Linked DNA regions of Homo sapiens: region 2 is linked to region 1. The links are contacts of gene promoters, found by promoter capture Hi-C in human tissues and cell types (Jung and others, 2019). All regions are on one chromosome and are shown on one strand. The core of a region is centred on a gene start or on the middle of the fragment in contact, and the rest is flanking DNA. Distances in the headings are between cores, read along the strand shown. Region 1 holds the start of BMP6 (bone morphogenetic protein 6). Region 2 overlaps LOC105374910 (a long non-coding RNA gene).

Region 1 (6,785 bases), core at 3,720-6,219:
GTTGGATGACCAGCACTTGCGCTATGAGAGAGAAATTTATCCTGTTGATTCACACTTCCTGATAGTCCGGCTGGCTTACAAGGCTCGGGGTGTTTCAAATGTATTTCATGAGTAAATTATTCCCCCAGTCCCAGGGAAGTCGGATGTTTACAACTATGTAATACTTTCCCTTGTACTTCCAGTGTGTAATTTACTTAACCTAGTAGGTATAAGCGTACTTTAAAACGCAGCGCTGTCATGTTTATCTTTCTGTAGATTCTTTAATAGATGAGTCAGGTAATGTGGCAGTTAACATGGCATTGACAGCAATTAGGAAATCTGTAATTCTCTAGTATCCCTATATAGAGAATCCAACATTGGTACGCAATAACTTTGTTCAAATGAACTGTCCTTCCTATGTTCAGAGTCATGGCAATCAGATTTTACCCCATTCTAGCCTCTGATGATGAAATACCCCTTTCCTATTGCTACATGGATTAAGATGAAATAGAATTGCTTCATTGGCAGGTGGCATGGCTTGCTGCTTGGATTCTACTTACCCGCAAAAGGTTTTCTCTTCACACTATCAGTATAGAGTCCAGAAGTGGACCTACAGTAGCTATAACTTGTACAAGGAGCCCAGTGATAGGAATATGAGGGGCTTGGGATAGAATTCCCATCCTAGAATTCTCTTTCAGTTCTGTGTCAGCCTGTCTTGGGGCCTGGAATTGCACTACTGGGTGAGTTCTCTTAAAAATTTTTAGGGGATTTTTTTAGATCTTTCAAAATCCTTTACGAAAAATGTCAATATCCCTAGGGAGATACTATGTTAAACCATCACCCTAGCAAGGATTAGCTGACAGCCAGCTTTAAGCAGTGTGACTCAGAGGCAGTGTGTCCCTGTAGCCCACGAAAAGTCAGAGAAGCAAGGAATAAGGGGAATTTGGAGGGTCACTAAATACAGTAAATATGACTATACTTTACAAATTCGCCTTAGGCCCAGCTCTTGAAATTTCAAATACCATCTAAGGCAGTGGTTTCCAAACACTGACATCACCTGAGATCTTGACAAAACAATGACACTGCTGGGCATGGTGGCACACTTCTATCTTCCCAGCAACTCAGGAGGCTGAGGCAGGGGGATTGCTTGAGGCCAGGAGTTTTGAGTCCAGCCTGGGCAACGTTGGGAGATCCTCTTTATTTTTGAACAAAAAAATACTGCTACCTGGTTTCCACCTCCACACATTCTGATTTGATATGGAGTGCCACCTGGGCATCTGGGTTTTTTTAAGGCGTTCCCCCCTACCTCCCACGTAACACCCACGTGATTCTAATGTGTAGCAATGTTTGAAAGCTTTGCTCTTCATCTCTTACTGGGACAATGTATCCATTTCCTTCAGACATTGGGATCTCCTGTGCCAGTGTTTCCTGACCACGGTAGCATATTAGAAAAACCTAAGGTACTTAAAAAAAATGATGCCTGTGCCCCACCCTCAAAAGATTCTGACCTAACTGATCTGGGCCCACGAAGCGGCCCTAATAACCCTAGAACTCTAAGTCCCCCGGGTGATACTACAGGGCAGCTAATGCTGAGAACCTCGGTTCAAGCCCAGGAATTGTTTTCCCAGGGACTGTAACACGATTCTCTGTGAAGTAGCCAGGAGCGCCAGTCTTCCTCCCCTTTGTCCAGGTTAGGACTACCCCCAAGAGGCAATAAAACATTTCCCCAGAGCTGCCAGGAAACCTGGAGGCGGGGTGGGGGCGGGGGGTGAGGGTGGAAGGAGAGGAGAGGAAGAGAGCAAGGGGAGGAATTTACTAAGTCAGAAGCAGCAGAAAAGTTAGAATAAGGAACAGCGCTGGTCCTCTGCCACCCTGGCCCCCACCCACTACAAATTTTATTGACTGGCATGAGAATTTCCTTAGAATGCTTCCTGGAGGTGGCTCAACCTTGGATTTGGTTCCAATAAATTGTGAAAATTCTTGTCCAATCAGAACCCCGGGCAGTGCAAGCAGCCAGATTGGCAGGCCCTGAGCCTGGACTCCTGTGAGATTCTGTTTCACGAATTTCCCAGGAGGATTTCTGCACCACTTGGATGCCAATCGCCCTGCCTCCACACCCTCCCTTGGCTCTTACCCCCCATGTTCTCTCCCTCAAAGCTCAGTGGAGTTGGGAATCATAGATAGGCTGGTAAAGAAATCACCCAGATAGTCTACGCGGGAATCATTCCAGTAAGTAATGCCGTTAAAAGATGAGCGTCTTTGACGTGGCTGGGAGACCCGTGTGCTCCTTTGGCGAGTGTCTGCTCACCCACTTCAGGGCCTGGGCACAACCACCGTCTCACATGGGAAGGAGGCCCGTGAAGCCCCACCCCGCCGCGCAGCTGCAACCATCCCGGGCGTAGCCAGTGCACCCATGATCTGTCCGCTGACAGCGCGTCCCTCCATCCTATGTCTGCGCTAAACTAAGTCAGCTTATGAATGAAAAGCAGTGCAAACCGGAGGCACTGACTCCGAAGAAAAGAGTCTTCTCTGCACCCTTCTCATTTACAGATGAGAAAACTCAGTGGGGTGGGAGGGGGGAGAAAGGGCGATGTGACTGGGTCCGGGTTTGCCACAGAACATTTGTGGCGGAGCTCCATTTAGCCGCCCGTGAATTTCCATTCTGTTGCCTGGCAACCGGTTCAGAGGAGCTCAGCGCCCAACCCCGGCCCCTACCCCGCACCCTTTCTCTGCCCGTGCAGCTTGGGCTGCATTGATCAAAGGTTCAGCCTTTGGGGACAATGGCCAAGGGCATGTGAGCCGGGGCACAGGATGGATTACCCCAGTTGAGCTTTCATCCCGCCCCAAACAGAAGCGAGCCCCGCCCGGCCGGGATCCGAGCGCCTTCCGCGGTCCTTTTGGGACTTCCCTCTGCAACCTCCCCTAGTGCCGTGGATACCTCTAAACATACTCATGCCAAGTTTTCAAAGTTCCCAGCCGCTGTCGGATTCCCTAAAAGTCTCGGTGGGAAAACTGCACTCCAAGTTAGGGGGCAAAAGGCGGCAGTTTAGAGGGGAAAATCGTACTGAAGAGCCCTCTTCCCAGGATGGCCACACTCGGGCTGGACTCTCCTGCTGCAGTTGAGTTAACCTGGCCAGAGCTGGGCAGAAGTGAAAAAAAGCGCGGAACGTGCTCAGGGAGTCCGCAAATACACGCCCGCTGGGGACAGCGCTCCCGGAGCCCCGCGGCCCGGCCGGCCAGCCGCCTCTGGGGGCCTCGGCGCGCAGCCCTGCCCGCGGCGCGGGGGAGCGCATGTGCCGCCCACCGCCGCGCAGGTGGCGGGAGCACAGCCTGCCTGTCCCCGCGTTCTCTGGCGCACCAGGCGGGACCCGCGCGCCGGGAGCTCCTCCACCCCCTCACTCCATCCCCTGGGCCCGGGACACTGAAAAGGGGGAAATGTTCTCGTCATTACGTTACCCCAAATCCTTACCCAGGTTCACAAAGCTCATGACCATGTCCGCGTCGTTGAGGAAGGCGCTGTCCTGCGCGCTGGTCAGTGGGGACGCGCCGCCGCTGCCAGATCCGGGGGCCAGAAGGCTCTTGCGGTTGAGCGGGTGCGCGGCGCCCGGGGGCGGCTGCCGACGCTGGGACGAGCTGGCTGCTTCGTGGGGCCAGGACTGCTGCCTCTCCCCCTCCGACGCCCCGTCCTCGTCGTTGTCGGCGGACAGGGCGTTGTACAGATCCAGCATGAAGAGGGGCGCGGACTTCAGTCGCCCGGGAGGGGGCTCTCCGCGAGGCAGCTGCTGCTGCTGCTGCTGCTCCTCCTGCTGCCGGAGCGCCGGGGGCTGCGGCTGTTGGAGGCCGTGCAGGGGCCGGGGCCGGTGCGGGAGCCCCAGCACCGACAAGATCTCCTTCTGCATCTCCCGCTTCTCCTGCGTCTTGAGCCGCCGGTACAGGAAGCCCGAGGAGGACTGCGGCGACGGCGGCGGCTGCTCCGTGCGGCCGGGGCTCCCGCCGTCCCCCAGCAGCTGCCCCCCGGCGGCGGCGGCCGCGGCAGCGGGCAAGGGCGGCCGCAGCGGCGGGGGCCCGCAGCAGCTGCACAGCAGCCCCCACCACCAGCACAGCCACTGCGCCCTCCGCCCCAGCCCCGGCATCCCCGCCCGGCCGGGCTGCCCCCGCGGATCCCGCGAGGCGTGGAGCGGCGGAGCGAGGCCGGAGCGCGGCCGCTGTGGCCCTTGGCGTGAGCAGTCCCCGCCACCTCTCGGCGGGCTCGCTTCCCCTTCCTGGCCCTCAGTCCTTATCTCTCATGGTCGTCCGGGGCGCCCCCAGTTGCCCAGGCTAGAGAGGTGGCGAAGGGGCGATCACCAGGAGAACCGCTTGGAGGGGAGGAAGGGGAGCCTCACAGCCTCGCGCAGGTCTCTAGAGGCGCGCGGTCCAGGCCAGGTGCGTCTGAGTCCGGGCTGCACTGCAGCCTGCGCCCTGGCTCCTGCGAGTCGCGGCGCGGTCACTCTGGGCCTCGCTGGCCGCACACGTGCGCTGCCCCGCGCTCTCCCTGGCGACTGAGTGGGACCCGGGGCAGCGGGGAGCGGGGCCGCTCACGAGCTGCGGGAGATGCCCGGCATCACCGTGGCGCACGCCCCTCCCCAGATCGCAGGGCCACCATGAAGTTTACCCCGTTGCAGGGCCCAGGCTGCGGCGACAAGGCGTCCCGAAATGCCAGTCTATTCCGCGAGGTTTAACTTCCTTCTCGCTCACGAACTCCGCGCCCCTGAGCTCTCGGGCACCGTCGCTCCCACTCAAAATCTCCGCGCGCCGCACGCCTCCTCAAGCGGAGGCGGCGAGGATCTTGCTTTCCGTTCGGCGGTCGCCCGGCTGCCCAGCAAACCCGCTCGCAGAAAGGATGGGAAGGAAGGGGGCTAGTGCACCGAGCAGCGGCCGCGGCGGCGGCGCCGGAATTCGGTCTCCCGCCTCTCCACGCCGCGCTCCCCGCAGCGGCCAACGTGGGCTTTCTGCTGCGCGCCCGGCTCAGGTACCTCACTCCAGCCCCGGGACTCCCCGCCCCGCGGTAACCGACAGGCTGGCAGCCAATGGGGACGCGAAGCTCGCGGGCTATTTAAATAGCCCCGCCCCTTCTTTCACCCTCCCTCTCCCGAGAGGCGTCGCCTCCGCCGCGCGTAGGTTTCAAGACCCGGGAATTCTTGGAGGCATGCGAAGAGCCGCGAGGTGCCAAAGGCGAAGAGGTCATCGCTAGTAAGAATGATCTGACCAATACCCCGATCTGAAGCTTTCTCTTTTACCATCATTTAAAAGGCCTAAGTTGATGCTTTAACTAAATAAAAATAATAACAGCGATTAAATCACTATACTGCCAGAACTGAGGAAGAAAAGAAAAATGATAGCTTTTCCATCCCTTCCTTAGTTTCTCTTATTGATGTAATGTAGGCGTTTAGCGGACACGTGGCTTTCCACGGCAGCTGCTGGAAGTTGGGACACACCCTCCGGGGAGGCTACTCACAAACTGACCACAGAGAGGGCCACATGTAACCCAAGCCAGCGTCCTGAGGGTTTGGGGTCGGATGTGTTGACTTCTCTGTTCATTTGTGCTTTGGTTTGGCTTCTTAAGCTAGCACCCAAAAGAAAGAGGGTGTAATCAGACGATATATTAGAAAAGGCGTCCCCTGTCTTCTTGGAAATGTCTTGATTCTCCAGCTTATCTATTAATGTTGCATTTTAATATTGAAATACAATGTGACTTATATGGTGCAAGATAAAACTTGAGGAGAGGTGATAAAGATAACTCCAGGAAGAGCAGGGGCTTGGCATGCATTCTGAATGGTCAGGACAATAGACAGGGTCCTGAAACACAGGTTCCTGTGGATTTTAGACAAGATAACACCACCACCAACACCATTTGCCAATGAGGACACAAATTCATTTGCCTTTACCCCGCCCGAGAACATCCAGTCATCTATGGATCGTAGAAGCAAATTCACGTAAAACATGAAGGTTTTTTACTTGGTGAAAATTGTGTGGAGTTGAAAATAAAAACTGCAATTTTCTGACTTGCCAGCCTTAGTCCAAATGGTCCTAGGCATTTGAGAGTGAAGTCAAATAGATTATAGACTGTGGGATTCATGAATTTATGAGATCATAGGCTTTCTGTTGGTCCAAATCTTATAAGCATTCCTATCCTATTTCCAAGAATCTATTTCTCATGGGTAAATAGAGACCACCACTGACTCCAACTACCCACTGAGTCCTTCTTTCTAGTTCTGCCTTGGCCCAGACACAAGTGGTCATTTAGAAGAGTCTTTATTTCTACAAATATCTGATAGCTATGAATTTCAGGGCACAAAACTTATGTGAATGCCAGTCTTTAACCATCTCTACAGGGATTTCTTCCATCCGAAAAGATAATACGATACTTTGTCTGGGATGCCCGGACCCTCAGAATTCAAGAGCCCTGTCACTTCTTTTTTCTGTAGGGAACATGTTAGGGACATAAATTCACTGCAGTGCCCCACAGCAGCCAAGAGCTCTGCTCAGAAGATCTGAAATTCCAGCAAATACACCTAGGCTTCCTGCCAAGAGCCTCCTTTTTTAAACCTAGTTGCACCTTCCTCATAAGACTTCTGGTGAGATGCAGGCAGAGTAAAAGACTTTCTACCTACGAGGGCAGTGGGGAAGACACAGGAAACTCAACATTTCAAGCATGGATGAGGGCACCTTGGTGGGGCTATGTCATTTAAAACACAAAATCGAGGGGTGACCCACCTATTGTAGAGGTTGAGCATCCCTAACCCAAAAATCTGACATCCAAAATGCTC
Region 2 (7,098 bases), core at 4,303-6,802, 510 kb before region 1:
CTCAGATCTCAGGCCTGAGAGGAGTGAAAAAAGGCTCCTGGCACCTAACCACCCAGCTGTCTAAACTCTTCTCGCCCTCCCCACAGTCCACTGGGGCTTAGGAAGGTGGGCTCTTTTCATAGCTTCCTTTCCTATTTGGTTGGAATTTCCCCTACACCATAATCTAATTTATACTTCATTCTTCACTGTACCCCAGTGCTCAGGGCAAGTCACATAGGAGGGAGTCCACCAGAATCTGTGGAACGAAAGAATAAGTGGGCTGGATGCAGTGGCTCACACCAGTAATCCTAACACTTTGGGAGGCCAAGGCAGGAAGTTTGCTTGAGGCCAGACGTTCAAGACCAGCCTGGGCAACATAGCAAGACTCTATCTCTACAAAAATTTTTTAAAAAACCAGCCATGCGTGGTAGTGCATGCCTGTAGTCCCAGCTACTCGGGAGGCTGAGGCAGGAGAATTGCTTGAGCCCAGGAGATCAAGGATCTAGGGAGCCGTGATCACACCACTGCACTCCAGCCTGGATGACAAAGTGAGTCCCTGTCTCCAAGAAAAAAAACGTGGGGGTGAGTGTGGTGGCTCATGCCTGTAATCCCACTGCTTTGGGAGGTCAAGGCAAGAGGATCGCTTGAGACCAGGAGTTCGAGACCAGCCTGTGCAACATGGCGAGACCCTCTATGTACAGAAATTTTTTAAGAAACATTAGCCAGGCATGGTGGCACATGCCTGTAATGCTAGCTACTTGGGAGGCTGAGGCAGAAGGATCACTTGAGCCCAGGAGGTGGAGGCTGAAGTGAGCTATGATCACACTGCTGTACTTCAGCCTGGGAGACAGAGGAAGACCCTGCGTCAAAAAAAAAAAAAAAAAAAAAAAAGAATAAGTGAATGAATGTTAGCAGACGGGGAACAGAGGAAGAAACCAATTCATAGATAGCTATGTGAACATGGGTCAGGAAGAGCAGTCACTACATCTGTTTCCTTTTCTTTTTCAAGTGTACCTGTGCTCTCCCTTGTCTTACTCAGATGTGCCTTCCCTATGTCAGTTGCTCAGCAGAGGACCCAGGACCATTGAAAAAATGACAGTAAGTTTTATTTAGAAGCCTCACTGAAAACTATAGATGGAGGCCTACAGCTTGGGGGCAGTTCTGTCAGACTGCTCCAACACAGTACTACAACTCACAGTTTATATACAGGTGGTGAAGATTCAGTAAGTGCAAATCTCATGAAAGTTTGGGTGTAAGAGTACATCTGGTTATAGATTACTAAAGTACATTTGGTTATAGATTGTGGATGCATAATCACTAACCCTGTCAGATGTTATCTTATGTGTAGGAAAAGGCAAGGCGAGGTCATTTATCTTTTAAGGAATGTAATGACTCAGGCAAGAGACGTGGGGAGGCTGTGTGCTCTATTCTGTTTTGTCTTCAAGGCATTCTTCCAGAGAGCTGCATTTCATCAGAGTTGGGGGTTCAAGCAGAAATGAGCAAGCGTGGCTTCTTATATTGGTTACTTTGTCTCACAATAGTCAAGTCTGTATATATACTGGCAGTCTTTTCCCAATTTCCATATTCCTCTTCTATTTTCTCCTCCTCCTCCTGTAAGCGTATAGCCCTCAAGGTTGTTTTGCTTATTGTGAAGAAATGGGAAAGAGGAGGAGGGAGAAGGATGTCAGGGGTTTGAGGGATTTGGGAGTGATTAAGAAACAGCAACACATAACAAGCTTGGTGCTTGGACAGGGTTGCATGGGGGAGAAAGTCCCTCATAGAAGAAGTCTGTTCAGAGGCTAAAAAGCAGAGGCCGCTGCTCAGAATGGGGGAGCATAGGCAACTCTCCAGGAGAAGAGGGGAGAAGAGGGGCTCAGATGTCTAGTGATGTGGCACAGCAGCACAGAGAGCAGTCTCTGGGTCAGGGAGCTCAGAGGGCTCATTGGGAAGAATAGCAGCTTGGGATTTTATCATGGGAAGGCCGTGTATTATCAATAGATGACAGCTGTTGGGTGAGGTTATGCAGGTATGCAAATCAGGCAGTTTCTAAATGGCTTCAAAATTTGCTTGTTTGAGCTATTTTAAAAATAACTGATGTGTACAAATTTGGATTGGGCACTAGTAAGCATTTGAGCTAATGGGTCTCAGCCCACAGTCAAAAAATTGACAACTGTGGGGCCAGTTCGCAGAGGCTATCAATGTTCACATATATGAGAGAGGAGGACGGTGTCAAACATTCCCCAGCACTGCACTGCGAGGAGGAGAAAGCAGAGAAGAAGTTGAAGTGGCTAAGGGGTTTTTCTTGGATGCTAGGATTAGCTAATTACGCCTCAAGTAACCCAGCATGGCCCACCCTGTACTATCCTGTAGTGGCAATTCAAGAATCACTGGAATCAATCAAACCATGGAGAAACACAAATTGCTCTCATTTACAGATTCTTTGGGAATGGAAGTACCGTACTAAATGCTATCAAAATACCTACGCTTGTCAAAAAGATGTCATTATTTTACATTTGTCTGATGCTTTACTATAAAATCGAAAATGTCAACCACAATCCTTCTTGCTTAAGAAAATACTGTGTATATGGAAATGGCGTGTACGGTTATGATGACACTATTGACTGGATTTTGGTTATGCATTTTTTTTCAATAAGGAAATCATTGTTATGGAGTTTGTGTTTCTTTTTTTCTTTTTTTTTTTTTTTTTACAGAAGGCAGTATCATTAGTCGGGCACTCAGACTGCATAACCCTTCTTACAACAGGCTCAGTCACAAGGAACCATGTAGATTGGAAAAAGAAACACATTACTGCACACCCATGAAAGGGGTCTTTGTAAAAGCACAGGGGGCAAGGAGGTGCATCTAGATCAATCAGCCTCAAACACAGGGTGAGATATTATCAAACCAGATTTCACTCAAGCTAACAGCTCTTAGCTCTCAAGTTCAACTGTTTTCTAATACATCAAATTTTCCATTAAAAGGCAAACTATTGGTAGCATTTTTGGTGGGGGAGATTATGGAAAATAATTTTAGAATGTTCATGTCCCCTTCCATGGGACAGAGGGAAGGACCTTTCATAGCCAGGTAGCAATTCTAGAAAAATGAAGCCTCTCATGTTGGAAGAAAAATAAACCAATTTTTAATACTCAAGAATACAATGGCTGTTTCCATTTTCAACCTGGTGGTTTATTTACACTTTCGGGACCATTACAGATCTCCTGCGAGGCAGATGAAGTGGATTTCATTTCTGCTCTTACGATCCATAATAGCTGCACCACAAGAAATAGCAATTCCCCTTCTACATCAAGTTATGCTAAGTGAGGATATAACATAAGTGACTTCACATGAACATGGGAATTACATAAATGAGTTGTTTAGGTAAAAACCACTGCTAAGTTAAGCTGCCTATTTTTTCACTCATGAGGGTTGAATACAGTGACAAACTCATTTGTGGATGTTGGGCAATTTGATCCAAGGTGACCTGTTACTGCCTCTGCTCAGAAATACATATTCGTTACAAACTAATTCTCCTTTTACCAAACTCATGACTTTGAGAACAATAATCCTACCTAGCAGCTTGCAAAATCTGTTAGGGCTGGACAAGGTACATTTTTTTTTTTTTTGAGACAGTCTTATTTGGAAAGATCAGTGTAAGAATTCAAAGCCTACTGGTTAAAACCATTAGTCTATTCCTGGACTGGTCCTTACTCACTAAGCCATCCAAGGTGCAACTTAGACATCCTGTGCCCAGGATCCATTCCAATGCCCTATAGACATTCAAATCTACAGCATTTCTTTGAAGTAAGACCTCAAATTCCTCAGGCCAAAACCTTTCCACACAGTTAACTTTGCAAAGAAGCTTACTTATATCAAGGGTGGAAAACATTTTCTTACTTAAATTCTCTCAAGATAAATAATTAGGTCTCTAATTAAAGGCTTGAAGCATTTCTGATTTTACACGAAGACATACATCAGCACAAGAAAACATGTTAGCACGTTCAAAAATAACACCATCATTTAATATCTATATTAAACCTTCTCTTAAAAGCAAGAAACAAGTAGGAGATTGAGTCAGAATTGTTGCACTGTGTCAGCCCCTTCTCAGCCTGTGTCCTGAATTCTCACCTATCATTCTAGCTCTCCTCTAAGTGCAAACATCCAAGCATGTGAAAGTTTTGCGTGCAGGTGTGTTTCCTGTACCTGCCTCAGTGTGAAGCCACCCTGTTTCTGGCCCCGAGGAGAAGTTCTCTTTCCTTGCAGCAACATAATGTTTTAAAAAGCTGACTTTCAAACCTCTTAGTGAATTTTTTAATGGATTAAATTCATCATGTCACCAGCTGCTGTGCAGCTAATAGAGCCATAAAACACTGTATTAAAGGATTACCCATGCAAAATTTCCTCTGGTGCTAATGTGAATTTTAATACTTTTAACATTTAGTTGAGACGGGAATGTCCAAGAACAGCTTGTCCAATAGGTTGTTCTATGAAATTAAGTTCCTCGTCTCATCAGAAATGCCAGGACTCCATTAAGTTAAAGTTTTACAGAGAGGCTACGATGATTCACTGTGCAGCATTTGTGAAGAGAGAGACAGCATCTGCTTCTACATTAATGCTATCTAAAAAAAAAAGAAGAAGAAGGGAGGAGAAAAGCAAAACAGTCATGAATCCCGTAAGTTCACGGAGACTGGGCTGAACAGAAGAAAACGCTAACTTCAGATTTGTGGAAGGTCAATTTATAAAAACGGAAAACAATGCTAATAATTGGGAACACCTAAATTTATATCCTCTTACAAGTCACTTGTCAGAAGGTCAAAAAGTCTCAAAGACACACAAAGTGGCGATTATACAAAATCACATGGATATCAAACTTTGCATAAGAAGAAATGTGATTATCTATATCTGGGCAACAGAAGAAAGAACCGAGGGAAAAATGTAGCTGATAGGGAGTGAAAAGAATCATAGGGAACGATGGCGGAAATTATGTAGTTCAAGTTCTTCATTCTACAGGGGATAATGCTGAGACCCTGAGAAGTTGTAGCTTGCCCAAAGGTTACACAGCTAGTCACATGCAGATTGGAGAATAAATCGCAGGTTTCCTGACACCCAGCCCGAGACACCATGTGTCTCCCTTACGTATCTATAAATATATACATATCGATTTTATTTATGTGAAATGGCTTACATATTAAGTAACAATAAAGAAGCAAGGAGTAGACAATAATAAGATCAGGATCCTCCAGCGATATGTTGATAAATAAGCTAACAAAGCTGTATATATTGCGTGTCGTTTCCAAAATAGTTCTAAATCAGACCACTTTCAGAAGACTTAACTTGAAATGTTACATTCTTTGTTTCATCTCCTTCCCCTTTTTTCCTGAGTGACCCTTCAAATCCAGATTGCAACTCTTACCTGTGCTTCTGAAACATTACAGCATTTCATTATTTGCTAAAGAAATTGCATCTTAAGTGAGGTTACTAAAAACAATGCAATCTTTCTTGAATGTTGTTCAGTAATTGGGCTAAATGTAATCATCGACGGAGGCTGCAAATTCTCATCACAATTAAAGTGGACATTAGAGTGTGTACCATGCCCTATTTGAAAATACAACCCAAGGATAATTGGTTTTCATGGAAATTCTCCAAAGCCAATGTTCTTCACCCCGACTGAATTTTGTCCACAGCTCCATATTTTGTACTCTGTATGTATTGCTGTTCTGAGAGCCTGTCATTTCTTATCAGAATGAGAAAGGCTAAAGAGATAATATTTCAATAACATACTGGCCTGATCATAAAATAACTCAATGGAAATGTGTAACTGCCTCAGGCAGCTCGGCAGGGTACTCAGCAGTCAGATCATTTCTATTCTGGGTTTTTTTTTTATGGTTACATTTTCTGTTATATCAGACATCCCCTCAAGTCTTAGTTATGCTTTTATTCAAAAGGGAGAACCACAGTATAAAGACCTACAAAACTTATTATGATATATTACTCTAAAGAAATAAAAGTCGCTGCCACAGTGGCATATTGATAAGGACAGGCCCGCCTCTTTCACTGACCTTTCTCCATCATCTCCCCCACCCGGAGTTGAGGCTGAGCTTCTCAGTTGCTAGGCAACAGGGGTCACAGTTTTCAGGTCTTCAACCTAGTCAAAAAGAAGACATGATCTTCAGAGAAAAGGCGGATACTCGGCAGCAGTGAGAATTTCAATACATACGGAGGTTTCTGATTTTTTTTTATCATGCTAAAGGCTGAAATGGAGAAATTTTGACTTGTCAAAAGATTGTGGGAACAGGTTTTTAAGTTCTGGTGATTAGAATCTATCACTGAAACAATATGAAGAAAATACAGTCAAGCCTCTTTTTGATGAACGCACTGACATGTGGCTTAGGATTTTAGCTGCCAGGAGAATGATGATCAAGACACGTCAAAAACAGATCTTGGGAGATGAATTTGGGGGCTGATTTGGAGATGAGGGTTTTTTGGTTTGGGTTTTTTGGTTTGGTTTTAACATTCCTTCTCAGACATTACTGCATTCTGGCATGTTTAAGAGCAGTGCTGCAGGCAACACAGCCGCTCCTGAAGGTCAGCTGCAAGAAAGCTCATTCCCCACCCCTTTTCCTAGCACCAAGTCAGCACTCCCTTTAAACTTTAATAAAGGGCAGGAGAAAGAACCTATTCCTCAACCGGAGAGGAACACGGCACCACTATGTAATTGCATTTGACAGTACATTCTGTAGGTATGTATTTAACTTCAATTATTATTACTCTAATAACACTTCAATCATGGCAACTTTTTAAACACAGAATTTGGTAGATTTAAAAAAGTGTGAGAGTTAGTAAGAGGGCTTTCGAATTTCCCAATTCATGGTCTACTTGATTATTTTTGTCCTAGAAAAAGAGCAGCAATTTTTATTTCACCTTATTTCAATACCCACTCACTCTGTAAATAATAGCAGTATCTTGGAGAAGAGAAATAATTATTAACTCCGAAAGTTTTAATTTGCTCAATGTGACGTTTTGAGGGAGAGAATAAAAAAGTGTGTGTGAGTGTGTGTGTGTGTGTCTGTGTGTGTGTTGGGAGAAGATAGCTAATTATAAACTCCAGATGAATAATTTGAA

What was found. Contacts are between HindIII fragments. The study calls those that stand out against the background at their distance.
Region 2: a contact is called between a fragment that was not itself captured here and the fragment with the promoter of BMP6 in region 1, in 1 of the 25 tissues and cell types used here (thymus).

The regions. Positions count from the first base shown.
Region 1 is chr6:7,724,283-7,731,067 of GRCh38, reverse strand. It overlaps BMP6 (bone morphogenetic protein 6), which reads right to left and starts at 4,969. Exons shown (of 7, transcript NM_001718.6): 1 at 3,449-4,969. The coding sequence starts at 4,112. The HindIII fragment of the contact is 10,073 bases long and covers 1-6,583 here.
Region 2 is chr6:8,237,954-8,245,051 of GRCh38, reverse strand. It overlaps LOC105374910 (a long non-coding RNA gene), which reads right to left. Exons shown (of 4, transcript XR_001743950.2): 3 at 6,036-6,121. Among named protein-coding and RNA genes, the nearest start is that of EEF1E1-BLOC1S5, 140 kb to the right of the region's middle. The HindIII fragment of the contact is 5,550 bases long and covers 2,778-7,098 here.